Linked DNA regions of Homo sapiens: regions 1, 2, 3, 4, 5 and 6 are each linked to region 7. The links are contacts of gene promoters, found by promoter capture Hi-C in blood cells and fetal thymus (Javierre and others, 2016). All regions are on one chromosome and are shown on one strand. Each heading gives the region's core, a stretch centred on a gene start or on the middle of the fragment in contact. The rest is flanking DNA. Distances are from core to core; before and after follow the strand shown.

Region 1 (3,777 bases), core at 1,126-3,625, 410 kb after region 7:
AGGCCCACCAGGGCCACTGGGAGGTGAGGAGCCACGGTGAAGGCTGGCCCAGCTCTCCCAACCTGCCCAGGGAGGCAAAAGAAAGCCCTTTTCCTCTGGCCCAGCCTGAATAACTGTGACCACTACCCCACCCTTGCTGTCCCCTACAGGAGGTGGTGACCCTGGATGAGGAGACCCTGAACACACCCTGCTACTGCCAGCTGGAGCCCAGGGCCTGTCACATCCTGCTGGACCAGCTGGGCACCTACGTGTTCACGGGCGAGTCCTATTCCCGCTCAGCAGTCAAGCGGCTCCAGCTGGCCGTCTTCGCCCCCGCCCTCTGCACCTCCCTGGAGTACAGCCTCCGGGTCTACTGCCTGGAGGACACGCCTGTAGCACTGAAGGTAGGGCCAGCTGCAGGTGCCCACACAGCCCTGGCCGGCCAGCTGCATGATCCCTGCCAGAATCCCCCACCCCAGGCTCATGGGTCCTCCCAGGAACCCCTCCCCGCCACCAGCATTATTAGGTCCCGCTTGCGACCCTCACACACTGAAACAGCCTTGGGCACAGGGCCTGCCTCACCAAGATCCAGGTTAGAGGTGGGAGGCAGACCAGGGATCCCTGAAGGCTCTGATGGGGTCTGCCCCAGGACTGAGGGAGCATCAGACTGGGAGGGGCTTGGGCTGGTAGGGAGGGACTCTGAGAAGGCTGACATGTAGGAGTTTCAGCAGAAAGGAGTGAAGGGCATTCCAGACCGACAGAAATGACTGCGTTTCATAAGCGTTTCAGCATGACCAACTAAAAGGCATAGGGAATGTGTGAATGTGAGGGCGGGCGAGATGGGCAGGGCTCAGCTTCCCAGAAGCCTCAGGGCCCCTTGCCAAGGAATTTGGAATCCATCCGGCAGGAAGGGGAATGGACCTGGTAGACACCTGTTCACAGGTGCTCTTTAGAAAGCCCCTGTGGCTATACTTGGGTGGGTAGATGAGAGGTGGAGAGGCCTGTTGGGAAGCTGGGGTTGGACCCTGGGCCACAGGGAGTGACAGCAGCCAGGAGAGGCGGGGCTGGATGCTGCGTGTGCTCAGTCAAATGGACAGAACCGGTGACTGATGGGATGGGCAGTGGGAGAGGGAAGTTAAGGCTGACAGCCAGGCTCCTAGCATATGCAGAAGGATGGAGAGCGGTGCCCCAAGTGAAGGAAGGGTCATGCAGATGAGGGGTGGTTGGGACAGGAGGGAGGGAAGGGGAGGGAAGGGTCTTTTAGTACCTAGAGCCTGATGATGGCAGGTATGGAGCCCCGTGTTAGCACCACTGTCCCCTGCCAGCCTCAGAGCCCTTGTGCATTCCCCCAAGTTCTCCTCCCATTCTCAGGAGCTCAGGCTCATCCTGATGTAACCCTGGAAGCATACAGACACTTGGCCGTGTGTGAGCCCCTTCCCCTCCCTCCTCCCATCTGCCCTCCTCAGCGCCTCATGGTCCTTTCCCATGGCTCCATGCACTTTCTGTTCCTGCTCCCTGGCCCCGTCCAGCTCCTTCATCTCCCAGGCTCATGGGACTTGTCCCAAAGCCCACACTGCAGACAACATAGGTGAAAGGCCCATGGGAGAAGGAGTGTCCCCTGCTGGGAGGACCCTGGCTTGAGATGCCAGTGGCCCTGTGATGGGTGCAAGGTGCCTGGGAAGTGCTCCTGCAGCTGGATCTCTTGGTCCTGGGGCGTTGGCTAATGGCCAGCTTTGGCCAGAGAGTGGTATAGAAATCAAGAGAGAAGTTACCAGGTTTGGGCCTGATGGCATTCTTTGTTTATTCAACCCTCCATCCATCCATCTGTCCATCTGTTCATCCATCCATCTGTCTTTCTGTTCATCTGACCATATACCCATTCAGTCAGCAGCCCATCTGTTTACCCAGTCATTGCTCGTCTATCCATTCATTTATCTTTTCTTCCATCTTTCTATTCATATACCCATCCTTGTATATCCATCTGTATATTCATCTGTCTGTCTTTCTAGCCATCAATCCGTTTATCCATCCATCTGTCCATTTATTAGTCCCTCTAGCCATACGGTCATCTATAGATTCATTCATCTAGTCATCTTTCCCACTGTCTGTCTATCCATCCGTCATCTATTCATCTTCTCACACCATAAGCCCTCTGTGAGCTCTTGCAAATGCCCAGCCATGCACTCAGATGGGCCCCTGCCCCCTGCCCCGCACAGTGCCACAGAAGAGGCCCATTGGCCAGGTGTGATGGGTTCCCCTTCCCCATGCCCCTGGCCCACAGGAGGTGCTGGAGCTGGAGCGGACTCTGGGCGGATACTTGGTGGAGGAGCCGAAACCGCTAATGTTCAAGGACAGTTACCACAACCTGCGCCTCTCCCTCCATGACCTCCCCCATGCCCATTGGAGGAGCAAGCTGCTGGCCAAATACCAGGTGAGGGCTGGGCTGATGGATGGGGAGGGGCACCACTTAAGGGCTGCCCGGGAAGCCCAGCTCCCTCCCGGGCCCTGCCTCCTAGCTCTGTCCTGTGGCCTTACCCCTCCCTGGATCTCTCACTGTCTCTGTCTCCTCCCACCCCAGTCTCTAGGCTTTCAGCCATCCCCAGGCACGTCCCCAAATTCAGGGCAATGGGCAGCCACATGCACACTTCTGCCCTGTCACACCCTCACACGCACAGACGACTATGCCCTTCATCCTCACAGAGGCTCCTCACCCTTCAGGGCATGCCCTCCTGGCAGACTGCCCATCTCATCTCTGACAGCCACAGCCCGCTGCCCACCCAGCAGCGCCTGAGACCACAAGGCCCCCTAGCCCCTGACACACACACACCTGTGCCTTTCCCTCCCCCACCTACCCACCCTCAGCTCCCTTCTGGAACTGAGGGCCTGACACCAACTCAGCTGGCTAGCTTAGGGCACTTGACCCCTCCCTATCTGGGTGGAGAGGCCTGAACTGCCCCCCAAAGCTCCCAACCCTCCCTGAGCCTCCATTTCTATGAGGACAGGGCAGGCTGGCCTTGCCTGCCTGGTCCTGACCCCCTCCTCCTGCAGGAGATCCCCTTCTATCACATTTGGAGTGGCAGCCAGAAGGCCCTCCACTGCACTTTCACCCTGGAGAGGCACAGCTTGGCCTCCACAGAGCTCACCTGCAAGATCTGCGTGCGGCAAGTGGAAGGGGAGGGCCAGATATTCCAGCTGCATACCACTCTGGCAGAGGTGAGGGAAGTCGGGGCCACATATTCCAGCTGCACACCACACTGGCGGAGGTGAGGGAAGGGTGGGGCAGATATTCCAGCTGCACACCACGCTGGCGGAGGTGAGGGAAGGGTGGGGCAGATATTCCAGCTGCACACCACGCTGGCGGAGGTGAGGGAAGGGTGGGGCAGATATTCCAGCTGCACACCACGCTGGCGGAGGTGAGGGAAGGGCGGCCAGATATTCCGGCTGCACACCACTCTGGTGGAGGTGAGGGAAGGGCGGCCAGATATTCCGGCTGCACAGCACTGTGGCATAGGTGAGGGAAGGGCCGCCAGATATTCCAGCTGCACACCACGCTGGTGGAGGTGAGGGCCAGAGGATACCTCTAGGGTTTGGGGCTGGGCTGCAGCACACAGAACCCTGTAGTTCCCTCTCACCTCCCAAGTCTGAGCGGGTATCTGGTCATGTTTTTCTAACAAGTGTCATTTATTGATTGAGTGCCATTCACATGCTTGGCATATACCAAAAAACTTACATGATCTCACAAGCACCGGGAGATGCATGACAGATATCATCCCCACCTGGGAGGTGAGAAAGTAGGTT
Region 2 (4,031 bases), core at 843-3,342, 420 kb before region 7:
GTAGCTGAGATTATAGGTGCCCGACACCATGCCCAGCTAATTTTTGTATTTTTAGTAGAGAGGAGGTGTCACCACATTGGCCAGGCTGGTCTCAAACTCCTGACCTCAGGTGATCCACCCGGCTCGGCCTCCCAAAGTGCTGGGATTACAGGCTTGAGCTACTGTGCCTGGTCACCAGGCAAGGTTTTTAAGGAAACTTTCTTTCCCTAGAGCCCAAGTGTGGAGCCCCCCTTCCCTGCCTTTGCCCACAAGGAGCCCCTGCCCAGGACTTCTTATGGACGGGGTGTAGTGGGCAGAGCACAGCAGCCTCACCCTAGCCCATGAGGCAGGACTGTGTGTGTGTGTGTGTGTGTGTGTGTGTGTGTGTGTGTGTGTGTGTGTTTTGAGATGGAGTCTCGCTCTGTCACCCAGGCTGGAGTGCAGTGGTGTGATCTTGGCTCACGGCAACCTCCGCCCCCCAGGTTCAAGCAATTCTCCTGAGGCAGGACTCTTATTATGGTCCTATAGTAGATGAAGAGACTGAGACTAGGGGCACACAGCTGGTAAGGGACAGAGCTGGGATTTAAATCCAGTAGCGTGGCTTTAAAGCTTGCCTTTATCTACCCACAGTGGAGGGGGCACGGTACCATCTCTGAATCCATTACCTCTAGCCGCGGAAGGCACCTTGGATTTAGGGACTGCATGTGTTCCTTCTGAGCCTTGGCCAGCCCACCCTTAAGAGGAGCTGGCATCGCTGGGGCCTCTGCCAGCTGGAGTTGGGAACATCTCACCCCAGGCTGGCAGGCGGCTAAGGGTCAGATTGGCCTATCAGCCAGAGGATTACCTCGGAGTCCCTTGGAACATGGATTCCCAAATGTGAAACATTCTACCGTGGCCTTAAACCCTCCGAGGGGGCTTTCCCAGGCTCAGCCCTGGAGATTCTGGCTGAGGAGGGCTGGGCGGAGCCTGGGAGTCTGTCGTGTAACCCCTCCACCAGTGATTCAAATGCACACACAGGCAGGCTGGGGAACAACTGTTTACTCCTAACTGCTGGACCGTGAATGCTTATCTCAGATTGTCTGGGGGTGTCTGGAGGGGCCTTCCAAGCCAGCGGAGCTCCGGCGGCTGCTAGTTGAAGTGAATGTGCATTGAATGCATTATGCTTCTGAGTTTGCTGTAGAGGTGAGCGGGCTGATAAGCTGGGCTGGGTTCCCCTGGGCCACCCCTGCCTGCTGCTGGGTGCCTGCAAGATGCAAAGGGTGGGTGGGCTGGCTGGTGTCTGTGCCTTCTGAGAAGCCTAGACCTCAGCTAGCACCACAAGAAAGGAGACTGAGTCAGGTCATGAGTTCCTCATTGCTGGGAATAGTCAAGCAGAGGCAAGGGGGTTTAGTACAGGGCTGCTCCAGGTCTGGCAGGGTGCACTGACTGGCTTCTTAGAGTCCGTTTCTTTTTTCTTTTTTTTGAGATGGAGTCTCGCTCTGTCGCCCAGGCTGGAGTGCAGTGGTGCAATCTCGGCTCGCTGCAACCTCTGCCTCCTGAGTTCAAGCAATTCTCCTGCCTCAGCCTCCCGAGTAGCTGGGACTACAGGCGCCCGCCACCGTGCCTGGTTAATTTTTGTATTTTTAGTAGGAACAGGGTTTCACCATGTTGTCCAGGCTGGTCTCAAACTCCTGACCTCAGGTGATCTGCCCGCCTCAGCATCCCAAAGTGCTGGGATTGCAGGCATGAACCATTATGCCCGGCCCTGACTCTGTTTCTTTAAATTGCATTTATTATGTCCATCGTATTCTGATGGCAGAAGGGGTGAATGGTGTGATATTTGGGGGCTGCTTTAAAACACTCCAACAAGGAAAAGGAAAACAGTAGATGAAGCAAGTGTGGCAAAATCTTGATAACTGTCATATCTGGACAATGGGTGTATAGAATCAATTATACTATTCTCTACATTTGTGCATATGTAAGAATGTTCCAAATTAAAATGACAAATGTCTTAATTATTAGAATGTCAGAAATGCATGGTGTAAAAAACTCAACTATGCAGTAGGATAGTGGGAGGTCAGTCTGCTCCCCTCTCCCAGACCCCAGTCCCCTCTTAGGACTAAGTCCTCTTTTCAGCCTCTTCTACAGCCTTCCAGAGGTTGACTGTGTGTATACAAGCCTATAAGTGTGATTTATTATTTTTTATTATATAATAAATAATATTTTTATTATATAATAAATAATATTATTTTTTATTATATAATAAATAATATTATTTTTTATTATATTTTATTTTTTGACACAGGATCTTACTCTGTCACCCAGGCTGGAGTGCAGTGGCATGATCTTGGCTCACTGCAACTTCTGCCTCCTGGGTTCAAGCGATTCTCCTGCCTCAGCCTCCCAAGTAGCTGGAACTACAGGCACGCACCACCACGCCCAGGAAATTTTTGTATTTTTATTTTTATTTTATTTATGTATTTATTTTTTGAGGTGGAGTTTCACTCTTATTGTCCAGGCTGGAGTGCAATGACACGATCTCGGCTCACCGCAACCTCCGCCTCCTGGGTTCAAGTGATTCTCCTGCCTCAGCCCCCTGAGTAACTGGGATTACAGGCATGCGCCACCACACCTGGCTAATTTAGTTTTTTTTTTTTTTTGTGGTACTTTTAGTAGAGACGGGGTTTCACCATGTTGGCCAGGCTGGCTTCAAACTCCTGACCTCCCTCATGATCCTCCCGCCTCGGCCTCCCAAAGTGTTGGGATTATAGGCGTGAGCCACCGTGTCCGGCCTGAATTTTTGTATTTTTAGTAGAGACGAGGTTTCTCCATATTAGCCAGGCTGGTCTTGAACTCCTGACCTCAGGTGATCCATTGGCCTTGGCCTCCCAAAGTGCTTGGATTATAGGCATGAGCCAACGCACTCAGCCTCGATAGTATTATACATTTATTACTCTTATCCCTGGATACTGGGTTTCCAAGCTCGCTGCACATTTGTGTGTGTGCATCTGGGTGGGTGTAACTGTCGGACAGGATTCTGTGGTTGGAATCCATGTGACTTATTCATCACCTTAGAGACAGATACTGAGGCTGCCTCCAGCACCCCACTGTCATGGTCAACACCACTGTGGTCATCTTTGTCCATGTCCATCTCTGAATCTTGCCCTTTACTCTAGCAAGCATTTTTTCTCAGCTCACATACATCTGCCTTGGGTTTTAAAATAGCTGCACGGTGTTCCTAGTTTTGGATGTTCCATAGTTTAGCCAATCACCTCTCTACTGACAGACCTTTCAATCTTCTCTTTCATCATCTCACTCAAACTATGAATAGCCTTGTTCAGTTGTCAGTTTGCACACATGCAAGCACATTTCTAGGCGAAAGTCCTAGTGATGGAATTGCTGAGGCAAAGGGTCTGTGCCTTTGTCATTTGCATGGATACTGCCAGAAAAGTGTGAGAATATCTGTTTCCCACCCATCAGCAAAACTGTCTTCCAGCGCTTAGGTTCTTTGAGGCTCAGAGAGTGGTGGTCTGGCTGGGATAACACAGCCAGTGAGGGTTGGCACTGAGCCTGGCATGCAGGAAACTGAACCCTGGCCAGTGACCTTCCCAAGGCACTGCTTTGGCTTCTTCATGCCCGAAGCTTCACAGAGTCTGGGACCTTCCTAGCAAGTCTGGGGGCCTCGGCCTTTGGAATGTGCCTGGTAAGCAACCCCTCCAAGTGCCCACTAGCCCAGAGCAGTGTCAGCCTTGGAGCTCGTCACACGAAAGCCCCTGGGAGGTTGTGTCAGGCCTGGCCTCCGTAGATCCCTGACCCCTTCCTCACCCCCACCTCCCTGCAGCATCTTCATAAAGGGCTCTGTCAGAGTGAGACATCCTTGGGAGCCTGGAGTGGTGTTGCCTGGAGACAACTGGGCAACAGATCTGAGTTATTTATTTATTTATTTATTGAGACGGAGTTTTGCTCTTGTCGCCTGGGCTGGAGTGCAATGACGCGATCTTGGCTCACTGCAACCTCTACCTCCCGGGTTCAAGCGATTCTCCTGCCTCAGCCTCCCCAGTAGCTGGGATTAT
Region 3 (4,222 bases), core at 269-2,768, 390 kb before region 7:
TTTGCCATGTTTCCTTTTTTGGTGCTTGTGGATAAAGCTACTGTGAACATTTTTGTGTCTTTTGATGAACATGAACACCCGCTTCTCTAGGACGTAGAGCCAGGTGTGAACTGCTGGGTGCTGGGGTAGAATCCTCCTTTCACCAAGAGGGAGACCGAGGAGGTTCCAGAGGGTCTGAGAGAGGAAGAGCCTTGCCCAGGGTCACATGATAACTCAATTAGCCTGTCTAACCCTCTTCCTCCCTTCACCTTCCAGTCTTAACAACCTCCCACTCCCAGCTGCAGCCTTGTGGGAGAGTGGGCAGGCTGGAGTTGGGGGTAGGGGGGCTTCTGGAGGGCCATATTTCCAAGTCTCGTTTCACTGGGCGTGCCCACGAAGCAGCAGTCTTCTCTGCCTTCCTCGCCCACCTCCTTCCCCATCCCTGGCTCCAGAGCGAGTGGCCAGACTGCAGTTTGCCCTACGTGGTGGTTGGTGCTGGGAGAGATGAGGAGGGCTTGCTGTTTGTTGGATGTTGGTGCTGGCCAGGCACAGACCCCGATCAGCACATAGGGGCTGTACTGGCATCTTGAGCCTGGGATGGTGCACATACGTGGATGAAGATCTGAGCAGAGCCCTGCACACACCTTCTACTCACGTGTGCTCCTGGCGGGTGCAGGTGTGCACAGCTGCCTCGCTCAGACCCAGCCTGTCTGGGGCCGGCGCATGCCTGGCCACAAGGCCGCCAACTCCCTGACCCGAGGTAGCGTTTGGGTCATTCCTCAGCGCCACTCGCACAGCTCTCCTGACTGTGCCAACTCTCTGGGTGGTGGTGCCTTTAGCTCTTTCCATATCTGCTCCATCTCTCCATCCTGAGCTCTGCAGGGCTGGAGATAGAAATGAATATAGGCATTAAAAACTTTTTTTTTTTTTTTTTGAGACAAAGTCTCGCTCTGTCACCCTGGCTGGAGTGCAGTAGTAGCGCGATCTCGGCCCACTGCAACCTCTGCCTCCCGAGTTCAAGCGATTCTCCTGCCTCAGCCTCCCGAGTAGCTGGGACTACAGGCGTGTGCCACCATGCCTGGCTAATTTGTGTGTGTGTGTGTATTTTTAGTAGAAACAGCGTTTTACCATGTTAACCAGGATGGTCTTGATCTCCTGACCTCGTGATCTGCCCGCCTTGGCCTCCCAAAGTGCTGGGATTATAGGCGGGAGCCATGTGCCTGGCCTATTAAAAACATTTTTTAACGAGGCCTTAATTTTCTTTTACCATGGTAAAATATACGTAACATAAAATTTACCATTTTGGGCGTTTAAAATTGTATAATTTAATGTCATTAAGAGCATCCATATTGTGCACCCATCACCACCATCCAGCCCCAGAACTTTTCCTTCTTTCCAAACTGAAACTCTGCACCCATTAAACACTAACTCCCCACTCCCTCTCCTCCAGGCCCTGGCACCCACAGTTCTACTTCCTGTCTCTGAATTTGACCAAGGTATCTCATATTATTGGAATCGTACAATATTTCTTCTTTTGTGTCTGGCTTAAACATATAACATAATGTCCTCAAGGTTCATCCGTATTGTAGCATGTGTCAGAATTCATTTCTTTTAAAAAATGTTAACATTTATTTTATTTTTCTTTAGAGATGGGGTCTTGCTCTATCACCAGAGCTAGAGCGAGCACAGTGGCATGGTCCTAGCTCACTGCAACCTCAAGTTCCTGGGCTCAAGCAATCCTCCTGTTTCAGCCTCCCAAGTAGCTGGGACCACAGGAGTGTGCGCCACACCTGGCTAATCTTTAAAATTATTTTTTATCGAGGTGAGATCTTGTGTTGCCCAGGCTGGTATCAAACTCCTGACTTCAAGCAGTCCTCTTGCCTTAGCCTCCCAAAGTGTTGAGATAACAATCATGAGCCACTATGCCTGTCCTGTTTTGTTTTTTTTTTTTTGAGGCTGTAATTGTTCTTTTGAGCATATTTGAAAGGTATCGCACAGACTGGGCGCGGTGGCTCACGCCTGTAATCCCAGCACTTTGGGAGGCTGAGGTGGGTAGATCACCTGAGGTCAGGAGTTTGAGACCAGCCTGGCTAACATGGTAAAACCCGGTTTCTACTAAAAATACAAAAAATTAGCCAGACGTGGTAGCGCGTGCCTGTAAACCCAGCTACTTTTGAGGCTGAGGCTGGAGAATTGCTTGAACCTAGGAGGCAGAAGTTACAGTGAGCCAAGATCGCCCCATTGCACTCCAGATTGGGCAACAAGAGCAAAACTTTATCTCAGAAAAAAAAAAAAAGGTATCATACGTCTTTGGGATTGAGTGAGGGGGTCAGCTTGATGGTGAGAGTGGCAATAAATAGCATTTGTTATGTTTACCAGGTGCTAGCACTTTCCTTACATTGTCTCATGTAATCCTTACCATATCCCTATGAAGTAGGTATTAACATTATCCTTATTTTACACATAAGGGAACTAGGCTCAGAGAAGTTCGGTAACTTAGCCAAGGTCACACAGTAAGTCACGGGCAAGCTAGGTTTGGATGCCAGTTCTGCCTGGCTCTACAGCCAGTGCTGTGTGTTTCTGACCCCAGCTCTGGCCCTTCCTTCTTCAATACCAGGCTTAGAGTTATTTCTTCAAATCCTTCTTGTCACCTCTCTGGCCTGAGTGTGGAGCTGATTGGTGCCATGGTATGGGCCCCTCCTCCCAGCCCCAGGTCCCCTTCCTGGGCCCCAGCTTCTTCTGAAAGCCTCTTTATGCAGCAGCCTCTGGGCCAGGCGGGAGTGTCTGCAGGGAGGTGGGCCTCAGAGCCCGCAGTGTGAGGCTGGCAGGGGCGGCTTGGCCTGGGGTGGCCACACGGCAGGATGTCCCTCTTGGCAGGACTTTCCCTGAAAAAACAGCTACCAGGACTTCAGGATGGAAGGGACAGATAAACAGGAAGAGGGAGAAACTTAAAAATATTTTTCTTCCTCTCCCGTGGCCTGGCATTTTCTCCCTGCTCCTCCCTCTGCCACTGGAGGTTTGAGGTGGTGGAGTGCTTGCTCCCCTGCCCGAAGCTGCCCGGGGGCCTGGAGAGCCACAGCTGGCAGGTGCAGGTTCATTCTTGTGGGTTTTGTTTTGCCTGATGGGCTGGTGTGAGCCTAGGCATTCAGGGCCAGACGGCCTGAGTTTGAATCTTTGCTCCACTGTTTCTTTGCTGTGGGTTCTAGGCCAAGTCACTCAGCCTCCTGATGCATCAGAATGGCCACAATCTGTAGCTGCAGGGCTATTTGGAGAAATGATATGGCAGTGACTCTTTGTCACGCTCCAGCTGTGACACTCAGGTGGATCTGTACAGGGGTTTTCTCAGTTAGTCCTCATGGCCTCAGAGGTGGGTGTGGGCATGGACTTCACTGACAGGTGTTGAAGCATAGAGAGGTGGAGCTTCAGTCAGGGGCATCAGGCTGGTCGTGGTGGAGCTAAGGCTCGAGCCCACACAGTCTGCATTCAACGCCCTGCTTGCTCATTGGTCTGGTGTGTGGTACCTTGGCACGTGGTACTATTGGAACTGTGAACTTCTTTCTTAGTTTGGGGTTGGTGGGGTGAGCTTTGCACCCCAGATGTCCCAGAGCAGTACCCACCCTGTTGCTCAGGTGCCTCCACATGGTGCCTCCTCCCTGCAGCCCCACTAGGTGGACACAGGCCGTGGTCGTGCTTCTCTCCCATTGCCACAGCTGGGCAGCACATCACACCCCGCAGAGCAACACCTAAGATCCTGGCATGGTCCCCAGGGACTGGGGTTCGGCCTACCCCACCTCATCCTATATTCTGGCCTCACAAGCACCTTAATTCTTCCCACAATACTATACAGGAGGCACCTCTCTCTATGCTGCTCCCTCTGTGCAGAGTGTGCTTCCTCCCCCTTCCGGTCTATCAAATGTTGCTCATCCTTTAAGTCCCAGCTCTGTTCCTTTTTCGGGAAGCCTTCCCAGAGTTCCCGACCATTAGTTAACGTCTTCCGCCACTGTGCAGCTCGGTATAATGGGAAAGGTGCTGGAGTCCCTGCGCTTCTGTCAGCCTCTCTGTGCCTCAGTTTCCTCATCTGTGGATTGGGGATTATAGGGGTGGGGGAAGGAGAAAGCTTGGACTCTCTTGCTCTGGTCCGTGTGGAGTTGGCTGGAGCCGGTGCAATATGGCCCTCTTAGGGTTAAGTTCCTCCCATGCCAGGGGCGGAAGTGAAGAGGACAATGTGTGAAATGAAGTCACT
Region 4 (4,075 bases), core at 1,568-4,067, 470 kb before region 7:
TAACCATGTTATAGTGGACTTTCTCTGTGTGGTTTAATTTCAGCTTACATAATTTCTTAACTATATAGCTTAATGCATGGATTATTTATCATTTAAACTAAGGTACTTGGTATTGAAAGAGGCCGTTACGCTTGAATGACCTTGTTTCTATACTAGCCATCTTGGCAAGCATAACTTTGGGCTTTATTCATTGACCTTCTTGTTGTTTTCTGCAGTTTGAGAATCACTGGTTTTTAGATTCAAAGGTAGATAGGGTTTTTCCCCCCTCTCTGTCAAAGGGACTCAGTTTTACTCTCATATTTCCCTAGTAATGTTAAATCTAGAAAGTCCTGGATGAAAGTATTAGATTTATCCTAATATCTGGTCACTAAGGGATGAAAAATTTATAAATAGCTAATGTTAACCTAGATCTAAAGCTTCCTATTCTGAAATCCAAACATGAAGACTAAGAAAAATATGTACATTTTGAAACAAAGCAGAAAAATGAAACTTCAACAATGTAAAAGAGGGTAAAATGCCAGTAGACAGCCACTTTCAGCAGTTTCTGTTTACAGTGCTTTTGCTGGCTACCATTGTTGCTGTAAATAATATATGTATACTGTGATTTCTTTAACATTAGACAATACTGTTAACTCCCCATTATGAAAGATGAGGAATCTAAGATACTTTTATTACTTTCTGTCTCTTGTTTCTCATCCTCTCTCCATTTACTAATTTCTGTAAATTGTATTATCATTTTTGGCTCCTCTAGTAGTTATCTTTAAAGCTCTAAATAATATGTGTCTCAACCTGTCAACTTTAGCTCTCCACTGTATAAAAGTACACCATTCACCTGTCCTCCTGCCTTTACTTTGCTGGTATGTAACCTCATTATGTTTATAATATCAGGGTTTGTGGGCAGGCTTGGTGGCGTACACCTATAATCCCAACACTTTGTGAGGCCAAGGCAGGAGAATCGCTTGAGCCCAGGAGTTTGAGACCAGTCAGGGCAACGTAATGAGACCCCATCTCTACAAAATATAAAATTAGTTGGACTGTAGTCCCAGCTACTTGGGAGGCTAAGGTGGGAGGATCACCTGAGCCCAGGAGGTCAAGGTTGCAGTAAGCCGTGATCATGCCACTGCACTCAAGCCTGGGTGATAGAGCAAGACCCTGACTCTCAAAAAAAAAAAAAAAAAAAAAAGAAATCAGAGTTTGTAACATTTACGTACTGTTCCTTAACTGTTAATTCTTCTATGCTTTTACTATAGTTTGATTATAAACGTTGAAAATCAAACAGCATATACAATATTGTGATTTTTTTTCATAACTTTCCAATATAAGACTAAGGAGCATGATTATTTTCATAGAGAAGGAATGGAAAATTGTTTTTTAATTTTTGTAACACTCCATCAATTGATCACAATCATGCCCCATTTTAATACTGTGTTATATGAGCTATGGATTTCTTGTGTAGTCTGTTTTCCTTCTTCAGTAGCTTAAGGTTAACTTGTTTCTAGTTACTTATGGCTGCATTGGTTGACATTAAATTGAGCTGACATAGCGTTGGAGGGAGTCTGGGTGAAATGTGAATTGCTAGGAAGTCCTTGCTTCAGAAAATGTACATCTGTGCATGCATATGTATAAGAAACCTTAAATATTTTAGATTTTTTAATAGATTGTCTTGGAATTGATGTAAGTTTATAGTAAACATAATATTCAATAAAGGAAATAAAGGGTTTTTTCCTGCCATTTTATCCATGGTTGAATCTTAATTTTTTTTCTTTGAATAATTTTGGTTTTTTAAAAGGTCAGTTTCTTTTGAATTACACCCTAAAATCATTAGTGATTAACAAGCTGATTCTGTATTTTTGCTTTATACCCACTACAATTAAATTTTTTTTAGCTTGCAGAGATTACTAAAATTCAAAAACTTATAAATACTATACTTTCATAGTCATATTTTTCCTGGCTATATTTGAGAACATTACAGCATTAAGACGCTAGTTCTTCAGTGTGTCTTGTTGTCTGAATTATTTACTGTGTTGGCATTCAAAATCAAACATATCTTAGGAATGCATTAAAAAAACTATTAGAAATAATAGGTGAGTTTGCCAAGGTTGCAAGATAAAAGAGCCATATAGAAAAACCTGTTTTTGGCCCAGCACAGTGGCTCATGCCTGTAATCCTAGCACTTTGGGAGGCCAAGGCTTGCAGATCACTTGAGGTCAGGAGTTCGAGACCAGCCTGGCCAACATGGTGAAACCCCATCTCTACTAAAAATACAAAAATTAGCTGGGCATGGTAGCGCATACCTGTAATCCCAGCTATTTGGGAGGCTGAGGCAGAAGAATCACTTGAACCCAGAGGGTGGAGGTTGCAGTGAGCTGAGATCACACCCTGCACTCCCGCCTGGGCAGCAGAGGGAAAATCCATCTCAAAAGCAAAAACAAAGAAAACTGGTCACGCTTGTTATCCCATCATTTTGGAAGGCTGAGGTGGGCAGATGGCTTGAGCCCAGGAGTTCAAGACCAGCCTGGGCAACATGGTGAAACCCCGTCTCTACAAAAAATACAAAAATTATTTTTTTCTGGGTGACATGTGCCTGTAGTCCCAACTGCTAGGGAGGCTGAGGCAGGAGGACCGCTTGAGCCCAGGAGGTGTAGGTTGCAGTGAGCCAAGATTGCACTTCTGCCCTCTAGCTTGGACGACAGAGCAAGACCCTCTCTCGAAAAAAAAAAAAAAGAAAAGAAAAAGAAAGCAATCCCATTTACAATAGCATGAAAACAATTTGATAGGAATAACTTTAGTCACAAAGCATAAAACTTTTACTCTGGAAACTACAAAACATTGTTGAAAGAAATTAAAGAAGACCCAAATAAGTGGAAAGACATTTGGTGGCCATGGATCAGAAGACTTAATATTGTTAAGATGGTAGTACTCCACAAATTGACCTTCACATTCAGCACAGTCCCTATCATAATCTCAGCTGGCTTCTTTGACAAGCTGACAAAATTCATATGGAACTTTAAGGGACCTAAAATATCCAGAACAATCTTGAAAAAGAAAAACTAAGTTGGAGGACTTACACTTTGTGGTTTCAAAACTTATTACAAGTCAAGACAGTGGGGTACTAGCATATGGATATACATATAGATCAATGGAATAAAATTGAGAGTCCAGAAATAAACCCAGCAATAATGGCCCATTGATCTTCAACAAGGGTGCCAAGACAATTCTGTGGAAAAAGAACAGTTTTCAACAGATAGTGCTGATACAACTGGATATGCACACAGAAAAACTGAAGGTGGACCAGATGGCTCAAAGACCTAAATGTCAGAGCAAAAGCTATTAATGTACAACCTTTAGAAGAAGACAGAGGCAAATCTTTATGACCTTGGATTAGGCAGTGGCCTGAGATATGACTCCAAAAGCACAAACAAAAGAAAAAAAAAAAAACATACATTGGACATCATGAAAATTAAGAACTTTTGTGCTTCGAAGATCATGAAGAAAATGAAAAGATAACCCACAGAATAGGAGACTATATTTGCAGTCACATAAGAGATTTATATCCAGAATAAAGAACTATCATAATTTAGTAATAAAGACAAATCATTGAAAAATGGGTAAAGGTTCTGAATAGACAGTTTCTTCAAAAGAAGATATGTGGTGGAATGGCCTGTTAAGTACATGAAAACAGCATGTTCAACATAATTAGCCATCAGGGAAATGCAAATTAAGATCAAACCACAGTGAGAAACCACTTCATATCTGCTAATGTTGGCTACAATATATAAAAATTAGAACTCTTACACACTGCTGATGGGAATGTAAAATAGTACAACCACTTTGAAAAACAGGCAGTTCTGGCCGGGCGCGGTGGCTCACGCCTGTAATCCTAACACTTTGGGAGGCCGAGCTGGGCAGATCACGAGGTCAAGAGATCGAGACCATCCTAGCCGACATGGTGAAACCCTGTCTCTACTAGAAATACAAAAATTAGCCGGGCATGGTAGCATGCACCTGTAGTCCCAGGTACTTGGGAGGCTGAGGCAGGAGAATCGCTTGAACCCAGGAGGCGGAGGTTGCAGTG
Region 5 (3,846 bases), core at 99-2,598, 390 kb after region 7:
CCCCAGCTGGGATGCAAACCCAGGGCCTCTGCCTCCAGCGATCTTTCGTGTCCTTCATTTGACTGTCTTGTCATTACATCTGTGCAGGGATGTGTCTTCTTTCATAGCTTCTTGGCGGGATATCTGGACCATTCTTGGATGCAGCTTTAAAGGCAGGCTGCACTTTTGCAATTTAGGCCCAAACGAGTTCTACTCTTGGGAAAAAACACTTCATGTGGGAATTTTCCTGCCAGCAGGAAACCCAGATCCGGCCTGGCTGAGGCAAGAACTTCTAGGGGAGCCTGTCTTAGATGTGGTTCCTCTGTAGAGACGGAGCAGCAGGAAGTCCTGCAGAGAGGCCAGGGAGGCAGGGCTGAGAGACATGGCTCAAGCCTTGCTTCCTGCCATCGACCAGGTGACCCTTCATGTCCCTTGTTGCCCCTCGTTTTCATTTGTAAAATGGGAAGAATTGCAAGGAGTAGCACATAGTAGACCTAAATGCCCATTTCCAGTTCAGCAGAGCTCGGAAGACAGATTCTAGTATCAGATCACCTGAATTTGCCCCCTAGCGGTGCCACTTACTAGCTTTATAGCTCTATGCCAGTCACTTAAACGCTTTTGGTCTCAGTTTCCTCATCTGCACTGTGGGGATAATAATCATATCCAACTCATAGGCTTGTGGTTCCCAAACTACCTGCCAAGTTATCCCAGGGTTCATCAGCACACTCACAGGGAAGCTGTGGGATATTTTTAATGTGGGAGACACGGTAATACTAGATAGCTGTCAGACACTGCACCAACAAGTAGCTCCAGGTAGCTCAGTTTCAGCATCATATCACTCTGTTTTCCTTTATTTGGCACCATATCTTTGCAAAGCTGGGATTGTGGCACTTGAGTAACCCATGACAAACAGTAAGAATAGTGGTGTCCGCTTGGATTCCAAAGTTTGAGAAGTTGTGCAGTGCCCGACAGGTGCACACATCCCTGTTCGTAAGTCTTTGTGGCTATTAGGAATGGGATAAAAATATATTTTTTCTTTCAATTTATCCTAAGATTTTAGGATATAAATATTTACAAAGCTGTTTGGATCTAATTACCTAATACATTCCTGTTAGGGACTTCTTTTTGGCCTTGGGATAGCTTAAAAAAAATTACTGAGGCACTAAAAATCAAAACGTTTGTGCATCTCTGTCTAGGGTTATTATGGAGCTCATTGAGTTCATATGAACCACTCTCTGAGCGGCGCCTGGCAGGGTAAGCATCCAGGAACCCCGAGACCCCATTATTCTCCCACCCAGCTGGTATCCGTGCAGCCTGGCCATAGGTCGCTCTCATCTAGCCCACCTTTCAAGCCTTCCTCAGTCACTGGGGCCCAAGCCAGGGCCAAGGAGAAGTGAGGGCTCTCGTTGTTTTGGAAACAGAGTCTCACTTTGTCGCCCAGGCTGGAGTGCAGTGGTGCGATCTCCACTCACTGCAACCTCCGCCTCTCGGGTTCAAGCAGTTCTCCCACCTCAGCCTCCCGAGTAGCTGGGATTAGAGGTGCACACCACCATGCCCGGCTAATTTTTGTATTTTTAGTAGAGATGGGGTTCCACCGCGATGGCCTGGCTGGTCTCGAGCTCCTGAGCTCAGGCAGTCCACCCACCTCGGCCTCCCAAAATGCTGGGATTACAGGCGTGAGCCACTGCGCCCGGCCTACTCCCTTACTGAAGTTGCATTCACTGTGCACCTGCTGTGTGCTGGCCAGCAGAGTCCACTCATGGTCCCTCCAGGCAGGAACCTCAGGTGGGCCTCTCATTCTTCCTTATGTCCTGGCAGTCTCTGCCTCCAGGACACCTAGGGTATAGGGACAGCAAGAGGGCAACAGCTACATCAAGAGCCATCCGGTACTGCTGCAACAGAGAGGCACAGAGGGGACACTTGGCCTGCGCCCCTGCCAAGGCCAGAGCTGAATCTTTGCACCAGGGCTGAGAGGAGGGGCGGGGTAGGAAGAGTAGGGCGGTGGGGCTGCCAGACGCAGGGCCTGCTGCACTAATGGATGTCTAATGTTTGCTTTCCTCAGTCATGTCTGCACCCACTTAATAAATGGTCTGCATTAGAGTTATAAAACAAAGTCATAATACAGCCTGCAGTGCTGCAGAGCACAGAGGCGGCTGTCACCCCGGGGCTGGGGGTGGTGCGGTTAGAAGATGGGGGCAGGCACGTGACATGCACCCATGGGCCCCCATGCCCCTTCTCCTGTGGCCATGACCTGCCCCCAGAGGGAGGCTCAATCCTGCCATTTCAAAGATGAGCTGCCTGAGGCCAGCAAGGGGCTGGTTCAGACCCAGGGGCCTCTTGAGTCTGAAGGCAGAGCTCTGTCCCACACCCCTCAGGGCTGAGACGGAGACAAGATGCTGGTGGTGGGTGGTGGGCATGGAGCCTGGCAGGTTCTCTGCTGCCCAGATGCCCTCCTGGCTCCATCCTGCTATCTCAGAGCTGTCTGGCCTGGCAGGGAGGCCTCAGTGGCCATCTCAGGGCATGCACAGCAACCAGCTCTCAGGCCACTGAAAGCCAATGTTCAGCTCCCTGGGTTGTGATCAAGTCACTGTGTCATCTCCTCATCAAATCCCCAAGCAGCCCTAGGGGGCTACCAGTTTGCCTATAGTGAATGTATCCCTGTACCTGGCAGTGGGAAGCAGGTGTCAGGGAGCCCTGGCCTGGCCTCAGGAATCTGCCTTGCTCTTCCCACATTAGCTACCCACTCACCGGGTGGCCTCGGGCAAGTCATGGGAACCATCTGAATGGTCTTCAGTTTCCTCTGCTTTGAAATGAGGACATTTCCAGCCTTGCAGGTCCCTTGATGAGAGAGCCCTGTGGACTGTGGAGTTCTGGCCCTGTCAGGGTGCTATTAGGATTCCTGGGTGTGGAGACACCTACACCATTACAGAGCTACGTAGATCAATGATAGGTGGTGTGGAGTCTGGGGCAACAGCCCAAACGCTGAAGTCTTTTCTCAGGTTCAAACTTTTGATCTGCCTCTTGTTAGCTGTATGACCTTGGACAAGTTGCTTAACCTCCCTGAGCCTCCCATTTACCCATCTCTAAAATGGGGTCTAATAGAACATACCTTACAGGGTTGGTGCCAGAATTCGATAAGTTAACAACTTAAATTCCTGCAAACATAGCACCTGATGCTGGGTGAGCCTTAGTTGTTCGTTCGATGCAGCAACATGTACGTACCTACTGTGTGCCAGGCACCGCCTAGGTGTTCATGCATGTTTGTCTCATCCTCAGAGCAGCCCAGAGACGGGGTAAGGTTGTCCACCTCTTGTGCTCATCAGACATAACGAGGTAGGTGTTAAGGTTCTCTCCCTGGGCCCTACAGAACATGCTGGATGGAGCTGGAGTCATGTGTCATCTTGTTAGCTACCCCACCCCCACCGCCCGTACACACACTGCCCAGGGCCTAGGCCCCAAGCCAGTGATAGTTCATGCATTTTCTCCTAAGCTCCCCAGTCTCAGCATGGTCTCCTGGTCCACAAAGAGAAAGCATAGTCAGACATTCTGTTCTTGGAAAACCAGGTGTCCCCTTGGCCCCTCTGACTGTAGGGGGGACTCCCTAGAGCCAGATGTGGCCTCCTAGACCAGAGAACAAGTGCACGATCCCAGTGGCCACACAGGCCTCCCGGGACACCACCCGCTCCCCTCCCTCCGCTGTAGGTGGGGCCTCTAGCTGGAGGGGCTGGGCGGCCATGCGCCACCCCACAGCTTCATTCACTGTGTCCTCTGGGCAGTTAGCAGAAGAGGACAAGCCCCCAACGGCTTGTGCCCAGCCACCTGATCATTTGGCATTTGGCACTGGAAAATTCATTTTTCTAGGTGGAT
Region 6 (3,808 bases), core at 1,309-3,808, 360 kb after region 7:
GGAATGTGGTCACCCTGCAGTTCAGGCCCTTGTATAGCCATTGTCCGTGTGAGACCCTGGCTGTCCCTGCAGAGGGTTGGCGGTCTGCCATGGCAGGCCAGGAGTGCCCAGTGCCCTCTCCTGCCACATCCGTTCCTGTAGATGATTGGGTCTGGGCTCTTGGTCGGCGGCCCCCAGAATCTCACACACACGTGTTGGAGGTGTCTTTATGATGCCTGGGTGAGGGAGACGGGGCCACGGTGTCACTCTCTCTGTCCTGGGCTTGGCCCTGCCAGCAGCAGGGCACTGGGTGTGTCCCAGCCTTCCAGCAGGTGGGGCCATGGAACACCCAATGAGGACCTCAGCCCACCCATTCAAGAGTCTGGGGAGCCGGGCGCGGTGGCTCAGGCCTGTAATCCCAGCACTTTGGGAGGCTGAAGCGGGCGGATCACCTGAGGTCAGGAGTTCAAGGCCAGCCTGGCCAACAGGCTGTATTTTGTATTTTCTATTAAAAATACAAAAATTAGCCGGGCATGGTGGCACGCGCCTATAATCCCAGCTACTTGGGAGGCTGAGGCAGGAGAATTGCTTGAACCCAGGAGGCGGAGGTTGCAGTGAACTCAGATCTCATCACGGCACTCCAGCCTGGGCGACAGAGGGAGACTCAGTCTCAAAAGAAAAATAAAAGAAAAAGAGTCTGGGGGCTGCTTTAGGGCCAAGCAGAAAGAGCCTGGGCTTCAGATCAGTTTCCCCATCTGTGCAGTGGGGGCTGTCACACCTTCCCTGCAGCAGCACTGTGCAGTGAAACTTCTTGCAGGGATGGGGACGTCTTCTGCCTGCACTGCCCAGTCTGGTAGCCACTAGCCACACGTGGCTATTGAGCACTGGAAATATGGCCAGGGTGATGAAGGAACTGAACTTTTAATTTTAATTAAAGTTTAAACAGCCACATATGGCTAGTGGCCACTGTGTTGGATGGCACAGCTCTGAAGGCTTCTGGGAAGATGCCATCCATCAAGTGCCCAACACCAAGGTTCTCAGCCAGGGTTAGTTCCCTTCCCTGTTCCCCGGGGGGCTTGGGAAGCCTTCGCCACCCCCTCCTCAGAGGCCACCCCACCTGGATGGCCAAGGTTGGAGAGACTAGACAGTCCAGGGTGGGCTGGAAGGAACATGGAGGAAAATCAGAACCACAGCTACAGGGATCACCTAAGGTCACTGGGTGAATACTACTTTTAAAATCTCTTCTGTGCCTCGTGATAATAACATTGGTTGAGTTCTAACCAAATACCAGGCACTGCGTGAAGGACCTTATGTATCAGGCTGCTTAACCCTTGGAGCTAACCATTGTTCTCCATAGTTTATAATTGAGTACACCGAGGCCCAGAGAGATGAAGCAACTTGCCCGAGGTCACACAGCTGGTGTGTGGTAGTGCCAGGATCTGCACCTGGGTGTGTCTGTCTGCAGAGACTGTGCCCTTTGTACAAGCCCAGGTCTCTCCATTTATTTAGCCATCACCTATTCTGCTGTATCTAGTACTGGGCCAGGCATCTTTAGGGACAGAGAATTGTGCAACACAAGGTTCCTGCCCTCTTAGTCTCCTTGGAGGAACTCCCTGCACAACACGCCCACAACAGAAATGATGCAGGGTGCCCCCAGGCATAATCAGCATGAGACTCTGAGCCCTGGCCTTCACAGGGTGGTGGCAGGTTCATCCCTACAGCCTGGGCCAATGCCTGCTGGGTAAGGGTGGCCCCCCACCCCAGGGCCACTCAGGCATTATGACGACACCCTAAACTTGGGTGTTAAGGTTTGGTTATAATCTCCTAAGATGACACCTAGCCCCTGGGACGTTGCCTGGCACTGCAGAAGGTTTACAGTAAATATCAGTTGGGTGAATGGCCTCTAGTGTTCCAGTGAGCCAGGCAGAAGAGTCATATCCTTCTTACAGAGGGCACAGATCTGGAGGAACCTGGAGACTTGCCCTAAGTTTGCCCCTACTCAGGCCCCTGCTTCTTTCTGAGGCTAGCCGGGGAGCAGGTGGAAGGAAAACACTCAGCTTGCATACGTAGAGAGGCAAGTCATAAATATCACAACCTCCAAGAGGAGAGGAGGGAGGAGGGAAGGCGGATCCTGAGAGCTAGGATGTCCGCTTCCGAGAACCCGCGATCTGCAGCCGCTGCCAGCAAGGTCCTGCAGGTCCTAGGGACACCCTGTGTGCATGCATGCATGCCTGTGTGCGCCGAACTGGTTGGCGGCGGGGGCGTGCTGGCGTGCTTGTGTGACTGTGGGCGACCATGGCACGCAGACCGCCTCCAGCTCCCGCTGGCCCTCCCCAACCCACTTCTCAGTTCTCCAGCAGCCAGATGTCTCCCAGATGTTCCTCACTTCCTGCCTGGCTCCGTGCAGTGCATGTGTGTGTTTATTTTGGACAGGCCACTAAATAATAACCATTTTAAGAAAAGCTTTTCAAAACCTCGTTCCCACGAGGAATCAGAGTTCAGGAAATAATCCCAATTCTATTCACTATTGTCCCCGGGCTCCCTTCTCTGACCTCCTCTCCCCCAACCCTGGGGACCACTTTTGAAAAGATTTCTTTTTATCCTACATGACGTGTGCTCTCTCCATAACACCATCTCTCTGGGAGCTAGGGCTTAGAGCTGGGAGCCCCTTAGAGCTTTGCTACCAGCATCACCTGGAAGCTTGTTAGGAATTCGAGGCCTCAGCACTGTCCCAGACCACAATCAGTCTGCGTTTTGACAAGATCCCAAGGTATTCGCACCTACATTCGCGTTTACCGTGAGCCTAGCTCTGTCTTATTGATGGGGTAATGGAGGCTGAGTCTGGCAGGGGGGACCCTTCTATCAGGTCTTCTTTAGCAGAATCCCAGTAGGGCCTGGTGGTACAGACTGAGAGGCCCTGAGCCCTCAGAGCTTGGGGTCTGAACTGTCCTTCTGGGTGGGCTGGCGGGGAGAGGCAGCCCAGCTAGTCTCTGATGTGGGGAGGCAAAGGGGTGGATTCATCCAGAGAATATGCCACCTCATCCCTGGTAGCCAGCATGGCCACAGACTAGGTCCCATGCCAGCCTCGCCGTGCCACATGGCCACTAGGTTTGGGCCAGTCCTAGATCTGCTCTGTGGGCTCCTGTGAGTCCCTGCTCCACCCACAGCTGCCCTCTGGAGATGGGTCTGGCCCTCCCTGTCTATTCTGTAGGCACTCTGGGTGCTCAGGTGGGGTGCCACAAGCTGGTGTCCTCCCGTTCCATTGTGACCCGGCTTGTCATCCTGCCTCCTGTGAAAATAGAGCAAATCGTATCAGCTCTGTTGGTCTCAGGGCAGTCCCAAGGACACGGGGCTGTGACTTACTGGTGATACACCGCCAGCACCCTCCTCATTTCTGGGCGTCATGGCTCCCTCCTCTCTGTATCTGAGCGAGGGTGTGCGGAAGGCCTGGCACACCTGGCTGGAGGTGGAGGTGGGGGCGGCCCCGAGAGAACTGAAGCTCAGGCTGTCCTCAGGCAGCTGGTGGCTTAGCTGGGAAACAAGACTCCCGCCTGTGGAAGCCTAAGGAGAAACCAGCCCCCAGTTCAGAAGCCCAGCAGTTGGTGAAGGCTGCCCTCGGTAAGGGAGACCTGGTAGGAGTTCATTCGTCAACAAGACTGGCGTGGCTTGGGGGGCTGCATACTGTACGCTGGGAGAGGTATGACGCTGAGGAGGCATGGAGGTCCCAGAAAGGCGGAGGACCCCAAGGGGAGAGGATCCGAGAGGTTCCTTCCAGAAGGATGGCTTTGTGGCTCTCCACACCCAGGGGCAGGTGAGATCACAGTGGGGT
Region 7 (4,168 bases), core at 977-3,476:
TCTCAGGAAGAGTACCCATGACTCTCCCCCCTTCCTTTTCCTATTATGTACTTCATCATATGCACCCCACGTCCCTACCGTAACTTTCACGTGTATTGAAGAGGAAACAGGCCTAGAGAGGGGAAACGACTTGTCTGCTGTTCTTTCCCGCCCACCCCTAGCCAGTGATGGCGCAGTGTTGTCTGTGTGTCAGCATTGCTGGGGCTGGACGAAGGAGCTACATTTAAAATAAGTGTCCATCCCATTCTTAGCCACACTGCAGCTGACCGCCGTTGGCACTACCTCTAGTAGGTCCTCAGTCATGCTCCCAGGCAGCCTCTGGTCCTGAGCCGCCAGGGCTAGGTTTCTCTGGTTTTCCGTCTGCTTTTCTGGCTGGTTGGGAAGCTCAGGCCAAAGTGGAAGGAACTTGGCCAAAGGCAGCTGGCAAACCTAGTGCCCCATCCTATTTACCTAATGTGCGAAGTGCCCTCAAGGCAGCCCAAATTGGCACAATTCAGGCCATGAGTGGAACCTCAGAGAAAGCAAGGAAGCAAGGGTCAGTTTCATCCTAGGAGGATCCAGGTCTAGGAGCTTAACAGATCCCAGAACCTAGGCTTCTAGAGTAGCACCACCCCAGGGCAGAAATAGAGTGCTGAATTGAAAAGATACCCTTAGGGGTGGGGAGGGAATGTGAGGGAGGTTGATTTAGCTTTTATGAGGCAGCCTGCAGACTGGACACCATGTGTTGATTGGCAGGAGTTTTGAGACCCGCTTTCACCATTTACCAGCCAGGTGGCTGTACCTCTCTTGGCAGAACCTCCACCTCCACAGATCATCATGAGGTGCCAATGGGACACTTTAGGAAACTCCACTGCTATAAAGCAAATGTCATCTGCATTACAAAAAAAAAACTTCCTAAGGCAAGCAGGCTTGTGATGGGCCTGGTAGCATTTGGGGTAGCTGAAGCATCGCAGTGCTTTCCTAAGTCCGTCTTTTTTCCCTGCTGTTTTCCCTCCTGAAAACGTGAGCTCTCTCTGGACTGATGTAGCTTGGCCCCTCTCTTCCCCTCGGCTCTGGATGACTATAGGGATTGAATGGCAGCAGCGATTTGCATCATCTGCCCAGTAGGTAGGTCTCTACTCCAGAGCTGGCCTTCTCCCCGTGGCTGACCGCCTGGTCCGTGTATCTAGACAACCAGAAGTCAGCCAAAGCATCAGAGCCCACTGTTTACTTCCTTGGCTCTTAAAGGGGTGGGTGAGTCCAGGTGAGCTCTTAGGAGGCTTCCCTTTCTCGGTAGAGCCTTCTGGAACCCCCCAGGTCGCACAGCCTGCGGCTGAACTGACAAACCTTCCAGGTGCCGGCTCTGGAGACAGAGAGGGGGACGCTGCCCCGTTTGCCTCCTCTGGCGAGGTGTGGGGAGTGGTTACCGATTTCCCAAGCCTGCATCTCTGGGACCTCAGCGCCCCTCACAAACAGCCCCACTCATCCTCCCTCCCCCAAGTCCCTCTCCTATCAAAAGGCCCTCCCAGTCTTGCCTGCTCCGAAGGCCTGTGGACCAGAAATGGTCTGATGAAGCTCGCGAGCTTACAGCAGAGCAAGGGCCCCGCCCCCGCCCCCGCCCCGGGGGTGGGTGGGGGAAGCTCACGGGAGGAGGGCTGCTCCAGCGCCACCAAGCCCCCGTGGCCTGGCACGGGCCTCAAGCCGGCGCGGGGAGTGGCTCTGGGGCCAGCATACCGGCGCAGAGCGTGAGTCCCAGGCAGACCCCGTACCCAGAGTGCCAGCGGGAAGGGGCAGCGGACAGGCACGCACACGAGCGCGCAAACTCAGCCTCCCTCTCGCTCCCACCCCAGTATAAAGCAGAATCGGGCCACCAAGGGGACGAGATCCGTGGACTCCTCCACGACTGTCTTCCCCGGCCCAGGAAGGTCGTAGGCCCCGCCCCCGGAAGGGTCCCGGAACAAGCACTGGCCGGGGTCAGGGCAGGCCTGGCCTCCCAACTGGGTGGGATTCGAACCCGCCACCGCCCCTCTCAGGGCTTCAGCTTCCCCTCCCCGCCGCCAGCGACAGAGAGCCGGGCAGAGACCCCACTTTCGGACCCCGGCGGCTCCGCAGGGGACTCGAAAAGACTTTCCCCCGCCCCTTCCCGCTCCCACCTCGCCCGCGGCTGCCCCGGCCCCGCTGCCCCGATCGCGGCCGCGCACCCCTGGACTCACCATGGCGCGGGCGGCAGCAGGTGGCCAGCGGAGAGGGCAGGCGGCGGCCGGGCGCGCAGGCTGCCGTCCCGGGGCGGGGCCGCGCTCGGGCCGCCCTCCGGTAATGATTAACGTCCCCAGCCAGGGACGCGCTCGGCCTGCTTGCTTCCAGCACTTTCCTCGCTGCTCAGAGCCATCCTCCGTGCTTGTTTCAGGGAGCTAGGGTGAAGCATGAGGGCTCCAAATGCCCGCTTCTGGGTTGGAATCCCACCCCGCCGCTTACAGCTGGGTGGCCCTGGGCGCCAGAATACCTATTTTTTTCTTTATAAAAATCTCTTATTTGGATATAATTGACATGCAATAAATTGCACATATTCAACGTGTACAATTTGATAAATTTTAATGTTTCCCTCGTGAGACCATCACCGAGATCAACATTATGAACATATCATCATCCCTGCAAGTTTTCCCTTGCCCTTTGGTAACCCCTTCCTCCCGAAACCACCTGGCCAGGCAAGCACTGATGTACTTTAGGTCACTATAAATTAGTTTGCATTTTCTAGAATTTTATGTAAATGGACCATAGAGTATATACTAGGCAGGATAACTGTTTTGGGGTTCAGCCATGTTGTTGCCTATATCAATGGTTTCTTCCTTTTATGGCTAAGTAAAATTTATTTTATAGTATTGCATTGTACAGATAGACTACAATTTGTTTAGCGATTCACTATTGGACATTTGCGTTGTTTACCTTTTGGCTATTACAAATAAAGCTGCTGCGAATATGGTGCACAAATCTTCGAAAGTACGTATGTTTTAATTTTCCTTGAGTAAACACTTAGGAATGGAATGCCTGGGTCATGTGGTAGGTGGACTTTTATAACTTATTAGGAAACTGCCATACTGTTTTGCAAAATGGTTGTATCATTTTATATTCCTAGCAGCAGTGTATGAAGGTTGCAGTTCTCTGTCCTCACCAACACTTGATATAGTCAGCCTTTTAAATTTTAATTGGTGTGTAGCAGTATCTCATTGTGGTTTTGAGTTTCCTTGATTAGTAATTGTATTGAATGTCTTTTCATGTACTTATTTGCTAAGGATAAGTTTTTTTTATTGAATAGCATGTTTGAATTTCCTGCCCATTAAAAAAGAAATTGGGTTGTCTTCTTATCGAGTTTTGAGGGTGTTTTATTCTGGATATAAGGACATGATCAGGCAGTGATTTGCAAATATTTTCTTTGCATTATCTTATGGTGCCTTTCAAAGAGCAAACGTTCTTAATTTTGATGAAATCCAATATATCAAATGTTTCTTTTATGGATTTCTATTTTGATGTTGTACACATAGAAATCTTGGCCTAACCCAAGATCAAAAGTTTTCTCCTATGTTTTATAGCTTTTGGTTTTACATTTAGTCTGTGATCCACTTTGAGTAAATATTTTTATATGCTTCAAGTTATAGATCCAGATGCACTTTTGCACATGGCGACTCAGTTATTCCTTTCTCCACTGAGTTGTCTTTGCACCTTTGTAAAATATCAATTGACTGTATACATGTGGGTTTATTTCTGAGCCCTTTCTTCTGTTCCATTGATCTGTTTGTCTGTCATGACAGAACACTACCTTGTCTTGATTATTATAGCTTTATAATAAGTCTTAGAGTCAGATTAGAAAAGTCCTCTCACATTTCACATTTTTCTATTAACTTTTATTCTTGTGCTCCACTTTTATTCCCCGCCCCCCACCACCGCCCATAGCAGCCTCTCTAATGTGTTAATGTGTATTTTTGTTTGCACAGGTTCTTGCAAAATGTGTGGTGTTGTTTCGTCTATGTGTATTTTTAAATTTATGTAAATGGTATTATGTAAATATATTACATTTCTCAGTCTGTTTCTTACAAAACAGAGTATTTAGTGGAAAATTAAGATCTACCCATGTTGCTATATGTATATTCAATCTGTAGCTTTTAACTGCAGCCTAGTATTTTGTAATGAGAAT

The links. The method cuts DNA at HindIII sites, captures the fragments that hold promoters and counts their contacts. A CHiCAGO score of 5 or more calls a contact.
Region 1: a fragment that was not itself captured here is called in contact with the fragment with the promoter of PCBD1 in region 7 in 3 of 17 cell types (M0 macrophages, endothelial precursors and M1 macrophages); the score reaches 5.9 in M0 macrophages.
Region 2: a fragment that was not itself captured here is called in contact with the fragment with the promoter of PCBD1 in region 7 in 4 of 17 cell types (naive B cells, total CD8 T cells, activated CD4 T cells and 1 more); the score reaches 8.5 in naive B cells.
Region 3: a fragment that was not itself captured here is called in contact with the fragment with the promoter of PCBD1 in region 7 in 1 of 17 cell types (activated CD4 T cells); the score reaches 5.0 in activated CD4 T cells.
Region 4: a fragment that was not itself captured here is called in contact with the fragment with the promoter of PCBD1 in region 7 in 4 of 17 cell types (activated CD4 T cells, total CD8 T cells, M2 macrophages and 1 more); the score reaches 5.1 in activated CD4 T cells.
Region 5: a fragment that was not itself captured here is called in contact with the fragment with the promoter of PCBD1 in region 7 in 3 of 17 cell types (endothelial precursors, fetal thymus and M0 macrophages); the score reaches 5.9 in endothelial precursors.
Region 6: a contact is called between a fragment that was not itself captured here and the fragment with the promoter of PCBD1 in region 7, in 1 of 17 cell types (M1 macrophages). The highest score is 5.2, in M1 macrophages.

What each region holds. Positions count from the first base shown.
Region 1 is chr10:71,293,551-71,297,327 of GRCh38, forward strand. UNC5B (unc-5 netrin receptor B) reads left to right here. Exons shown (of 17, transcript NM_170744.5): 12 at 1-23; 13 at 150-383; 14 at 2,261-2,410; 15 at 3,028-3,192. Among named protein-coding and RNA genes, the nearest start is that of SLC29A3, 24 kb to the right of the region's middle. RefSeq lists an enhancer at 1,910-2,717. The HindIII fragment of the contact is 7,740 bases long and covers 1-3,777 here.
Region 2 is chr10:70,468,371-70,472,401 of GRCh38, forward strand. It overlaps a transcript of PALD1 not described here. Among named protein-coding and RNA genes, the nearest start is that of PALD1, 8.4 kb to the right of the region's middle. The HindIII fragment of the contact is 3,012 bases long and covers 587-3,598 here.
Region 3 is chr10:70,496,669-70,500,890 of GRCh38, forward strand. The region is part of intron 1 of PALD1 (phosphatase domain containing paladin 1); the gene reads left to right. Among named protein-coding and RNA genes, the nearest start is that of PALD1, 20 kb to the left of the region's middle. RefSeq lists enhancers at 2,271-3,032, 3,033-3,792. The HindIII fragment of the contact is 5,152 bases long and covers 1-4,094 here.
Region 4 is chr10:70,412,449-70,416,523 of GRCh38, forward strand. All of the region lies in intron 1 of EIF4EBP2 (eukaryotic translation initiation factor 4E binding protein 2), which reads left to right. Among named protein-coding and RNA genes, the nearest start is that of EIF4EBP2, 10 kb to the left of the region's middle. The HindIII fragment of the contact is 4,807 bases long and covers 415-4,075 here.
Region 5 is chr10:71,275,059-71,278,904 of GRCh38, forward strand. All of the region lies in intron 1 of UNC5B (unc-5 netrin receptor B), which reads left to right. Among named protein-coding and RNA genes, the nearest start is that of SLC29A3, 42 kb to the right of the region's middle. RefSeq lists an enhancer at 3,775-3,846. The HindIII fragment of the contact is 5,590 bases long and covers 1-3,846 here.
Region 6 is chr10:71,242,584-71,246,391 of GRCh38, forward strand. All of the region lies in intron 1 of UNC5B (unc-5 netrin receptor B), which reads left to right. It overlaps LOC112268061 (a long non-coding RNA gene), which reads left to right. Exons shown (of 2, transcript XR_002957083.2): 1 at 1-3,790. Among named protein-coding and RNA genes, the nearest start is that of UNC5B-AS1, 26 kb to the left of the region's middle. RefSeq lists an enhancer at 3,585-3,808. The HindIII fragment of the contact is 237 bases long and covers 2,441-2,677 here.
Region 7 is chr10:70,886,339-70,890,506 of GRCh38, forward strand. It overlaps PCBD1 (pterin-4 alpha-carbinolamine dehydratase 1), which reads right to left and starts at 2,227. Exons shown (of 4, transcript NM_000281.4): 1 at 2,193-2,227. The coding sequence starts at 2,195. RefSeq lists silencers at 1,484-1,763, 2,094-2,343. The HindIII fragment of the contact is 14,850 bases long and covers 1-4,168 here.